2 separate regions of the Homo sapiens genome follow, and region 1 is linked to region 2. The links are contacts of gene promoters, found by promoter capture Hi-C in human tissues and cell types (Jung and others, 2019). All regions are on one chromosome and are shown on one strand. Each heading gives the region's core, a stretch centred on a gene start or on the middle of the fragment in contact. The rest is flanking DNA. Distances are from core to core; before and after follow the strand shown. Region 1 overlaps FLJ12825 (a long non-coding RNA gene). Region 2 holds the start of SMUG1 (single-strand-selective monofunctional uracil-DNA glycosylase 1).

What was found. Contacts are between HindIII fragments. The study calls those that stand out against the background at their distance.
Region 1: a fragment that was not itself captured here is called in contact with the fragment with the promoter of SMUG1 in region 2 in 2 of the 25 tissues and cell types used here (mesendoderm cells and thymus).

What each region holds. Positions count from the first base shown.
Region 1 is chr12:54,106,056-54,111,246 of GRCh38, forward strand. All of the region lies in intron 1 of FLJ12825 (a long non-coding RNA gene), which reads left to right. Among named protein-coding and RNA genes, the nearest start is that of LINC02381, 17 kb to the right of the region's middle. The HindIII fragment of the contact is 5,117 bases long and covers 1-3,941 here.
Region 2 is chr12:54,187,115-54,192,094 of GRCh38, forward strand. It overlaps SMUG1 (single-strand-selective monofunctional uracil-DNA glycosylase 1), which reads right to left and starts at 1,871. Exons shown (of 4, transcript NM_001243787.2): 1 at 1,837-1,871; 2 at 705-788. It overlaps LOC105369777 (a long non-coding RNA gene), which reads left to right and starts at 1,983. Exons shown (of 3, transcript XR_944984.2): 1 at 1,983-2,088; 2 at 3,334-3,420. The HindIII fragment of the contact is 7,082 bases long and covers 1-4,980 here.

The DNA of each region.
Region 1 (5,191 bases), core at 133-2,632, 82 kb before region 2:
TTGGATTGTGGTCCCCTGAGATCGCTGGATCTTTTTAAGCTTTAGAGTTATGCCCTACCATGTGGATGCAAGTGGAGGAAGGACTTCTCAGTGTGACCCATGAGAGGAGTGGCTCTCCTGGGCCCCAGGCCCCAGGCTGCATGCGTATGGGAGGGAGGAGGAGAAGCAAGGAAAGGAGGAGAGACAGAAGTATATACTGAGCTGGTAGTTGGGGGAAGGGTTGGCGGGTGGGGAGAAGGGAAGAGAGGAGTCTGGGCCAAGGCCAGAGGTGTCTCCCTGGGGAGTCCTCGGAGCGGGCAGCCGGACGTCGCTCCATCCTTCCCGCCTGACGGATGCGTCTGCTGCGCAGGCACAAGCTGTCGGGCCAGGCCCTGCCAAGGCAGAACAGTGGCGCTTCTGTGCGCGCTGCTCCGCTCCGCTCCGGAGGATGGGGCCCGCCCGGGAAGCCAGGGAGTGATGGAGAAAGCAGACGTCCCAGAACAGGAGCCGTGGGGTCACAGAAGCACGCCTGCCTCCCGAAACAAGGGGCCACAGGACGAGGTGGGAGGGGACCGGGAATCAACGCGGGGGAGCGTTTGGGGGAATTGTTGGTCGAAAGAAGAGAGGCAGAAGGACGCGCGCTGAAGGAGCCTGGGGATGAAGAGCTCGATGATTTGGCCACAAGCCCCCTCACCTTTAAGAACAAAGCTTTCTGCATTCAGTTGCAGAGTTTTGTTTCCCGGTCAGATGCTCAGAGACCTTCCACCCTGTCCCCCACCCCTCAGCCTTGCCCATCTCCACGAGCATCTTCCGCGCCCTCGCCCGGGACTCGGAGCCCACCACCCTCCGCCTCCGCCTGGCCTGGCCCGCGAGATCCCTGCCGCTCCAGTTCGGAATCTGGGATCCGCAGGCTCCCAGATCCGCCCCTGGCCCGGCTCCGACCCGCCCGTCAGCCGCCTCCCACTCAGCGTTAATTAAAACTTGCGAGATGGAGAGGCTGGCGCGGACGGCTCCGTTTTATTTGCAGCATCTTTCATGCTGCTGACGATCGTAAAGGGCTTTAATATTGAAATATGGGCCATTTTCCCAGCTCCAGCCCTCGCCGCGCTCTCTCCGCACCCCCACACCCAGCCACCCCGCGCTTGATGAAAGAGCCCCTGCAAATCCATTAAGGAGAGATAATTGAAAACTCCGGGGTAATATTTAAGACCGCGTGCCGACGCGGGGTGGAGGGCCTAACTGCGCCCGCTTTGTCCGTCAGTGCTGGTGCGTGCCAGTCCCTAGCGCTCTAGGCCCACCAAGGCCCCGCCGACGCCCAGCCAAGGCCCGCCGTCTTAGCGGTGCCTCCTCACTCCCTGCACTCAAAGGGCTGGCTCTGCGCTAACCTGGCTGTGCCTGGAGACCCGACTTGCCTGGAGACCCGAGTTCCAAAAGGAGCCACAGGGCACGCTGTGTGACAGATGGATTAGGGCCAGCATGAACGGGGGCCAAAGCATCTTGTCCCACTGCTTCAGCTTCGGTTTGGTGCACCAGCATCAGGCACTGCTCAAGCTTCTGAGCACGGCATCCCCTCTGCCTGCAAGCTTTTCCCTCCAGCACTTTCTACTTGCGGAACTGCTGTTCCTCTTTCAAAACCAACCCAGTTCCACCCCAAGTAAGTGCAGTGGGGTATGGAACGTGGGTGGGAGTATAGACACACCAAGATCCTGGTGTGACCATTGTTGCAGCTGCATGATGAGGACACTATACTGCTCTGTTTTCGTATGTTTTCAATGTTCCACAACAAACATGTTTAGAAAGCAGCTGAGGCATCTTCTTTTACGCCTCCCTCTCCCATAAATACAGACTACCTGTTATCTTGTACATTGATGTTCCTTAGCACATCGTGTTGCCATTATCTGTTTAAAGTCTTTCTGCCTACTCAGCTGTGACATCTTCAGAACAGGGATCAGGTCTAATTTCACTCCTTAGCCCTTGCTCCAGGCCCAGTGCAAGGCACATAACATGCGCTCAGTAAACATCACTGAATAGGCTGTTCTCTGGGTACCTAGAAGTCTCTAGGGCTTAAGGTTAGGATACAAGCACACGGAAGGAGGGTAGGGCAAAGCATGGAAGAGGGGTGGGGTCTGTGAGGCTGGGTTGGGGGTCATGTCTGTCTCCCACAATGACTGGCTTCAGGATGTTCCCAGAATGGGAAAAGGGTGGAGGACCATGTTCTGCACTGTGATTTAGGAATCCTTAGGTCTCTACCTGGGACTTTTGGGGATGTTTCTCCACTTCACTCCATTTGGCTTACTCTCCCAATCAGGTTAGACACACACACACACACACACACACACACACACACACCACCACACACCTTAGACAGGGAAAGAGTGGGAAAGAGGGAAGCAGAAGAGATTATTTGAAGACCTACTTGTGCAAAAGGCATGAGTAGTTCAGGCATTTCCATGGATACCCAGCTAACCTCCTACTACAGGGCCTTTCCTACTTACCCCTGTTGCCCAGTCTTCCCCAACACTGTGTCCAACACCCATACAGGGGTTGTACTCACAGGATGGCACTATCGAGGAAGAGGGGGCTGTTCTGACTCAGCCCCCCTAACCGCACATTGGCCCTGAAGCCACAGTTGCAATGATGCCCTCTCTATGGCCAGAATGAGATCCAAACCATTCCAAAGTTCCATTTCCAAACAAGGACTCCTCGTTAGAACCACAAAACATCAGAGCTGGAGGCAACCAAAAGAGCACTGTGTCCCCTCTTAGTATCTGTGGGGCAACTAAGACTTAGAAAGGGTCTGTGATGTGCCCCAGGTCACAAAGCCATTGGTAACTGGGCGGGCGGGGTGGCTCACGCTTGAAATCCTAGCACTTTGGGAGGCCAAGATGGGTGGATCATTTGAGGTCAGGAGTTCGAGACCAGCCTGGCCAACATGGCGAAACCCTGTCTCTACTAAAAATATAAAAATTAGCGGGCAGTAGTGGAGCATGCCTGTAATCCCAGCTACTCAGGAGGCTGAGGCAGGGGAATTGCTTGAGCCTGGGAGGCAGAGGTTGCAGCGAGCTGAGATCACACCACTGCACTCCAGTCTGGGCGACAGAGTGCGACCCTGTCTCAGGAAAAAAAAAAAAAAAAAAAAAAAGCCATTGCTAACAAAACCAGTGCTAGAATCCCAGCAAGTTAGTGGTGGAGCTGGAATTAGAATCCCAATCTCTTGACCCACTTAAATATATACAATTGGTATTCGAAATGCTTTTCACAAACATTATCTCATTTAATTCTCTCTCTCTCGATAGGATCTCACTCTGTCACCCAGGCTGGAGTGCAGTGACATGATCATGGCCCACTGCAGTCTCAAGCTCCTGGGCTCAAGCAATGCTCCCACATCAGCCTCAGGCACATGCCACCACACCTGGCTAATTTTTGTATTTTTGTAGAGACAGGGTTTCGGCATGTTGCCCAGGCTGGTCTTGAACTCCTGGGCTCAAGAAATCCTCCTACCTTGGCCTCCCAGAGTGCTGAGATTACAGGCATGAGCCACCGTACCTGGCCTCATTTAATTCTCACAAACCTATGAGATAGCGTCACAATTCCCATCTACAGATGAGAAAAATGAGGCTCAGGGAGAGCCATGATTTGTCCAGTGTCATACACGGGTGGAAAACAGATCCAGGATTTGAACCCCAGTTTGACTGGCTCCAATTCCAGTGCCCTTTCCACTCACTTCTCCAGTATCTCCCCCTACACCCCACCCAGCCAAGTCAGGCCAGTTTCCCAGACACTCACCCTTCATCCCTGGACATCTCCAGCCAGAGGTCTTTTTTCTCCTTAGCCCAGCTTCCCCCACCCAGGGCAATGTTCTTTGCCCCAGATTTGGAGGTGGCGGTGTGGTAGTCCCCGCCGTGGTTCTGGGTACAGGCCTCCATGAACTGAAGCCATGCACAGCCTGGCCTCCTGTGCGCAGCCCTACTCCTGTTCGTGGCCACGGAGGCCTCAGCCATAAATCCCCAGGTCTCAGCTCATAACCATTAGCAAGCGATTGGGCTCATCAGGACGCCTTTATGAGACTCAGGTCAAATAAATGGATTGCCGGAGGTCAGGAACAAGGGATCTCCTTGGCTTGCCTTGCCTTGCTTCCGAGATGCTCCCACCACGCAGAGGTTGGCAGATTCTGTTTGACTCACAGCTGTAGGTGGAAGTGGGGGCATTGTCACAGTGGGATAAAGATGTACAGTATCCCCTGGTACTCCACACCCATAGAAGGAAAAGCGCTTGGAGATGCACATCCTCAGATAGCCCACAGTCATTAGGGCTGGAGGAACGCACACACAGAGGCACATATACACACTCAGACCCCCATCTCTGATTCAAATCCACTCTTCAGCAACCAACCCCCCAACCCCACCCATCTCATATCCTCTGATGTCCTCACACTCCATTCCTCCTGTGAGGTATTTCCTGAAACACTGCTTCTCAAACACCACTGCGCATACAGATGACCTGGGACCTGGTTAAAATACAGATTCTGACTCAGTAGATCTGGGGTGGCACCCGAGCTCTGTTTTCTAACCAGCTTCCAGGTAAGGCCAGGGCTGCTTCTCCAGAGATTTTAAGCAATGGTCCTCCCACATTGGAAGGGTAGGGTCTTTCAAAATGTAAAAGAGATAGGAGTGTGCAGTTTGGGAAAGCTCCTCTCCCACTCCTATCCCCCAAATGCTGCTGTGCACACCCAGGTGACTGAACTGTTTCTAGAATGCTGTTACCTCACTCTTTACATGGCTCCCTCTCATTCTTCAAACCTCAGCCCAAGTGTCACTTCCTCAGAGAAACTTTCTCTGGCCACCCAATTTATTTTATTTTATTTTATTATTTTATTTTATTTTTTTGAGACGGAGTTTTGCTCCTATTGCCCAGGCTGGAGTGCAATGGCATGATCTTGGCTCATGGCAATCTCCGCCTCCTGGGTTCAAGGGATTCTCCTGCCTCAGCCTCCCAAGTAGCTGGGATTATAGGCATGCGCCACCACGTCTGGCTAATTTTTGTATTTTTAGTAGAGACAGGGTTTCTCCATGTTGGTGAGGCTGGTCTCGAACTCCTGACTTCAGGTGATCCGCCTGCCCCAGGCTTCCAAAGTGCTGGGATTACAGGCGTGAGCCACCATGCCTAGCTGACCACCCAATTTAAAGGGTCCCTGCTCCACCCTGTCTGTGAT
Region 2 (4,980 bases), core at 621-3,120:
CTTTGCACTCTGCTTGTTTTCCAGACTCTGGGTCTGTGCCCATCATATGTGTGCCTCCCATGCGACAAGGACCATTGTCATTCCTTCCTCTCAACTTTCTGCCTGGGTCAGGAGTGACTTCTCCAAGATAAGAACTCAAGGTTGACACAACAGCTCGATAAACCTATTTTCTCACCCTAGCCTAGGGGAAGTGGGAGAGAAAAGAAATCAGAGGCCCAACTTAGGAAGTCCTTCCCTGACTGTCTCAGTAGTCTTTAACTGATCTGTTGTCCAGGTGGCTACCCAGGACAAACTGGGCTCATACAAAAGCTGAGAAGGGTGCTGTGGAGAACGCCAGTGTTTCAGGGGACCTTGCTTTGCATCTCCCCATGCAACACCAACATTAGCAGATTGGCTGCTCCAGCTCTAGAATCTCGAGAAGTCTTGAGCCCACCTTTGACATTTAGACACCTGTGTTGGAAACAGCAAGGCTGGGGAAAAGAGTGGCAAGATACTACTTTCATTGTTCCATAACTTCAAAGCCTGATCTCATAGCAAGAGCCACAGGCTGGAAGTCAATTGATTTGAATTCTACTCCTGTTTCATCTCTAAGAAGGTTCTCTTGAGCAACTCATTTAACTCTCTTCTCTATGGAAAATCACATACTCCATCCAACCTACCACCTGTTAACTCATTTTTTTTTTCAATACTTATGAGTCTCTTACATGACAGGCACTGCAGCAGTCTCTTGATGAGGAAGAAATCCAAAAAGAGTAAAATGTAGGCCAGGCTTTCTGTAAGCTCATAATCTGCTGTGAGGGCAAATAAACAACTAACTGTAATACAGTGTGATGTGAGCTTTAATACCCGGAACAAAACACTAAGAGAACCCAAAGGAGGAACTTGTAAGTTCTACCCAAAGTCGCCCCAAGAGCCAGAGGCTTAAGAAATGTAGATATTTTATAAAATACGGTGTCATACTACATTAAGCACAAAGACAGCGGAGTTGGACCAAGCGATAAGGCTGACCACCAAGGGCCGACTTCAGACTGATGTCAGACTTCTCTGACATCAAATCCGGGAAGTGAGGAAGGAATCGAAATCACATATGCACTCCCCTGTCCTTTGGAGGCACTCCGGGAGTCCAGGGACAATAATAAATATCCTTAAACGAAATAATAATAATAATAATAATAATAATAAATAATAATAATAATAATAATAATAATAATAATAATAATAATAATGCATAGGCCGGGCGCGGTGGCTCACACCCGTAATCCGAGCACTTTGGGAGGCCGAGGCGGGCGGATCACGAGGTCAGGACTTCGAGACCAGCCTGACCAACATGGTGAAACCCAGTCTCTACTAAATACAAAAATTAGCTGGGCATGGTGGCGCGCGCCTGTAATCCCACCTACTCGGGAGGCTGAGGCAGAAGAATCGCTTGAACCCGGGAGGCGGAGGCTGCAGTGAGCTGAGATCGCGCCATTGCACTCCAGCCTGGAATTCAGAGCAAAATTCCGTCTCAGAAAAATAAATAAATAAACAATAATAATAATAAAGCATAAACTCAAAAAGACCATTTCATCTGGTTCCAAAGGGGCCGACTACTAAGGCACCATACAAAACCTCCGGGGGCGCCCGCTGGCTCCGGCCGACTGGAAAGCCTTGATCCTGCAGACCTCCCAGGCGGTTTCATAGGCTGGGCTCTCCCTGCACTGAGTCTTACCCCATACGGAGGGAGGGACCCCAAAATATAGAAATTCTAACCACCCTCTCGGCTCAGCCCCGACGACCCTGGGAGCCGTCAACTTGCCCCCACAGTCCCGGATTCCCAGCCCCCTACTTCCTCACCTGGTCCAGCTCCCCATCCCGTTTCCGGTTCCTTTCCCCCACCCCAAACCCAACCCCCGGCGCTAAGGACAGTGGGAGTCGTAGTCTACATTGTTTAGGGAAGGAGATTGGCGTACCCGCAGCCACTTCCGCCGGAAATGCTCCAATCCCGGAAGGCGCACTAAATTAGCCCTAAAGATCGCTGGGAATTGTAGTTTAATCTTTCCATCAGCGTTAAATCAGGAAGTCTTGAGAAGTGAAAAGCCACAGCCTGTAAGTACCTAGGAAATCCTGGGTTCTATCCCTAAAGGGCATCGCCCTTCCAAAAGTTCATTCACTATTTTCCCAAAGGGATTGCAAATCAGGAAGCTTCAACCATCCCCAATCCCTCACCCACCTGAAGGTATTAACAATAGCTAAAGACCATTGCTAGGCCCCCTGCCACCGTGGGTATAAGAGACTTCTCCTTTGCAGCCTGCCATTACTTATACAGAACATCCACGAAGACATTTCTGGTAGCTCCTAACAACTTTTTAGCAAGGGGCATCCCCCATTACTGTCCAAGCCCATCTCCAGAGTGTCACCATTTTGACTTCTTTCTCTGCCTTGCTATCTGCCCAACCCTATAACCTCAGTATTAGTCAAGAGTTTTCCAGAGAACAGAACTAACAGGATATCTATCTATATGACGAGATTTATTCCAAGAATTGGCTCACAGGATTGTGGAGGCCAAGAAGTCCCACAGTCTCCCGCTCTGCTGTCTATACACTGGAGAACCAGGAAAACAGGTGGTATAATTCAGGAAAGTCCAAAGCAGGGGAGGAGGCTCACTGCTAAGTCCCAGAGCCTGAAGGACGAAGAACCAGGAACTCCAATGATGTCCAAAGGCAGGTAAAATAGATGTCCCAGCTCATGAAGAAAGAGAATTTGCCTTCCTCCACTCTTTTGTTCTACTGGCCCCCAAGGGATTGGATGGTTCCCACCCATATTAATGAGGGTGATCTTCTTAGTCTACCAATTCAAATGCAAATCTCTTCCAGAAACACTCCACAGACATATCCAGAAATAATGTTTTACCAGCTATCTGGGTGTCCCTTAGACCACTCAAGTAGACACATAAAGTTAGCTATCACTCTTCCATCCAAATCTTCTCCCTCAAATACTTTGTCCAGGAAGGCTTCCCTGATCAATCCTCATCCCATGGCTGCACCTAACAGTCCATTCCCCCACCATTCCCCCATCCCAATATCTATGTCCAAATCTGTCCTATTCCTAGTTTTGTTCTTGTGCTCTATCTGGGTCTGGTTCTGTGTCGTGACTCTAAAACTTTCATTAGACTGGGAACCCCCTAAGGTTAGTTATCTTCTATATTCCTCCCACCCCACAATCTCCACACACCTTAGCACAGCCAAGGCTCTAATCACAGAAGCAAGGTCTCCCTGTGAGTGGTAGAAAAGGAGACCTATAAACCCCAGAACAGGAAGAAGTGAGAGAAAAAGGATGCTATTCCCTTCCCAGGACTTGTCTGATCTCCTATCAACAAAAACTTAATGGGTGCAGTAGGAGCTTCAGGGAGCTGTGAGCAGTGACCTGCTGACATCAAGGGTGAGAAACTACCCTGACCCTTGCAAGACTTTGGAAATGGAATTAATCATCCACCTCATGAAGCCCATAATTTCCTGAGCTTTAATTTTTACCAGATCCTCTCCCTCTCTGTGTCTCTCTCTGCCTATGTTATTTGCCCCTCTCTACTTATGTAAATTTATCTCTATTTCTAGTCTCTTGTGTAGCTTTCTCTCTGTATCTGCAGGTCTCTGTCTCCCTCTGTGAACATCTCCCTGTTTCTGCTTCTTACCCTAGAATGACTGGAATAAGAGAATCTGAGCTTCTAGAACAAGTTCCCCCATCTCTGTGTGTCTATGTATTTCTGTGTTTCTGACCAAAAATAAGGTGAAGGGACCTCATTGTGGTGTCATCTCATTGCTTAAAAATTCCAGGATTTCCACCATCCCTTGGACAACCCTCCTGTCCACCCCGACCCCTCTGTCACTTGCTTGCCCAGCACTTCTGTTCTAGTTTGTCATCTTGGCAGCCCCTCCACATTCAAAGTCTGCTTCTGGCAGAACAATAATGAGTGAAATGAGTAACAGGCAAGCAGAGATCCCCCAGGACCTCCACCTCCCCACCCCTGATTTCAATTTCCTAGAAGACTTGAATAACTGTTTCTGTCCCTATAAGCCCATCCACCCCAGGGAACCCAGAGATAGGAAGTCCAGATATAAGGAGAAACTGAGGCTTAGGCAGCCCACAGTGAGTCCCTACAGCCAATGTCAGAGGGGCCTGGGGCCTTCTCTCTCTCTAGTCCATGCTATTCCTCCCCGCCCAGTGAGTCACTCCCAGGAAAGATGGAGGTGAGGCGCTCTCCTGAAGTAGGCGTGCTTAGAAACAGGGACCCTGAGGCTTTCAAGAGATAGAGCCCAAGAGATGAAACATGGGCTTGGGTGCAGCCCTTCCAACCAGTCTCTTCCATTTATTAGTCTTCATGTCTTCTGGGAAGTCTTCAGGAGGCTGCTGACTGTGATTTACGGGTAGAGCCTTGTGGGGCAGGAACAGAAGATGACCCAGGTTATCGCCTGGGTAAGAGCCTAGAGAGTTGAGTCACCGGTCCTGGGGCAGGGCTCCAGGCATACCCACCAGCCAGCCCCTCTGTCCTGAGCCCGGGAGGGAAGGGGTTAACCGGCTCACTTGTTTTTTTTTTTTTTTTTTTGTTTCCTCGGGCTGCTGGAGCTGTGTTGGGCCATGAGCGCCATCTATCGGCCTCTTTGGGTCCTAGCTCCGACTCTGCTCACTTGGGCTGCTAGGCGGATCTTTCAGCCTTTCCCTTGCCTCGCCGCTTCTCACGGGGAAGGGCTGTCTAGCTGCGGGGCCTCCCACTGCACAAAACAAAGGTCGGGAATTGGAGAAGGTGAAGGCCATGTTTCCCCCTTCATAGATACTAAGTTTCACCCTGTTCAGCTCCCACTCACTGTTTCTGACATGGGGAGCCCCAAAGGGGGTTCTGGTGTTTAACTTTCAGTGTAGCCACCTTCCCCACTTCCACTACACTGGGTCCTGTCCCGATTAGCCCAACAAACATCAAAAGAGCATAGGACAGTGAAGACAGCA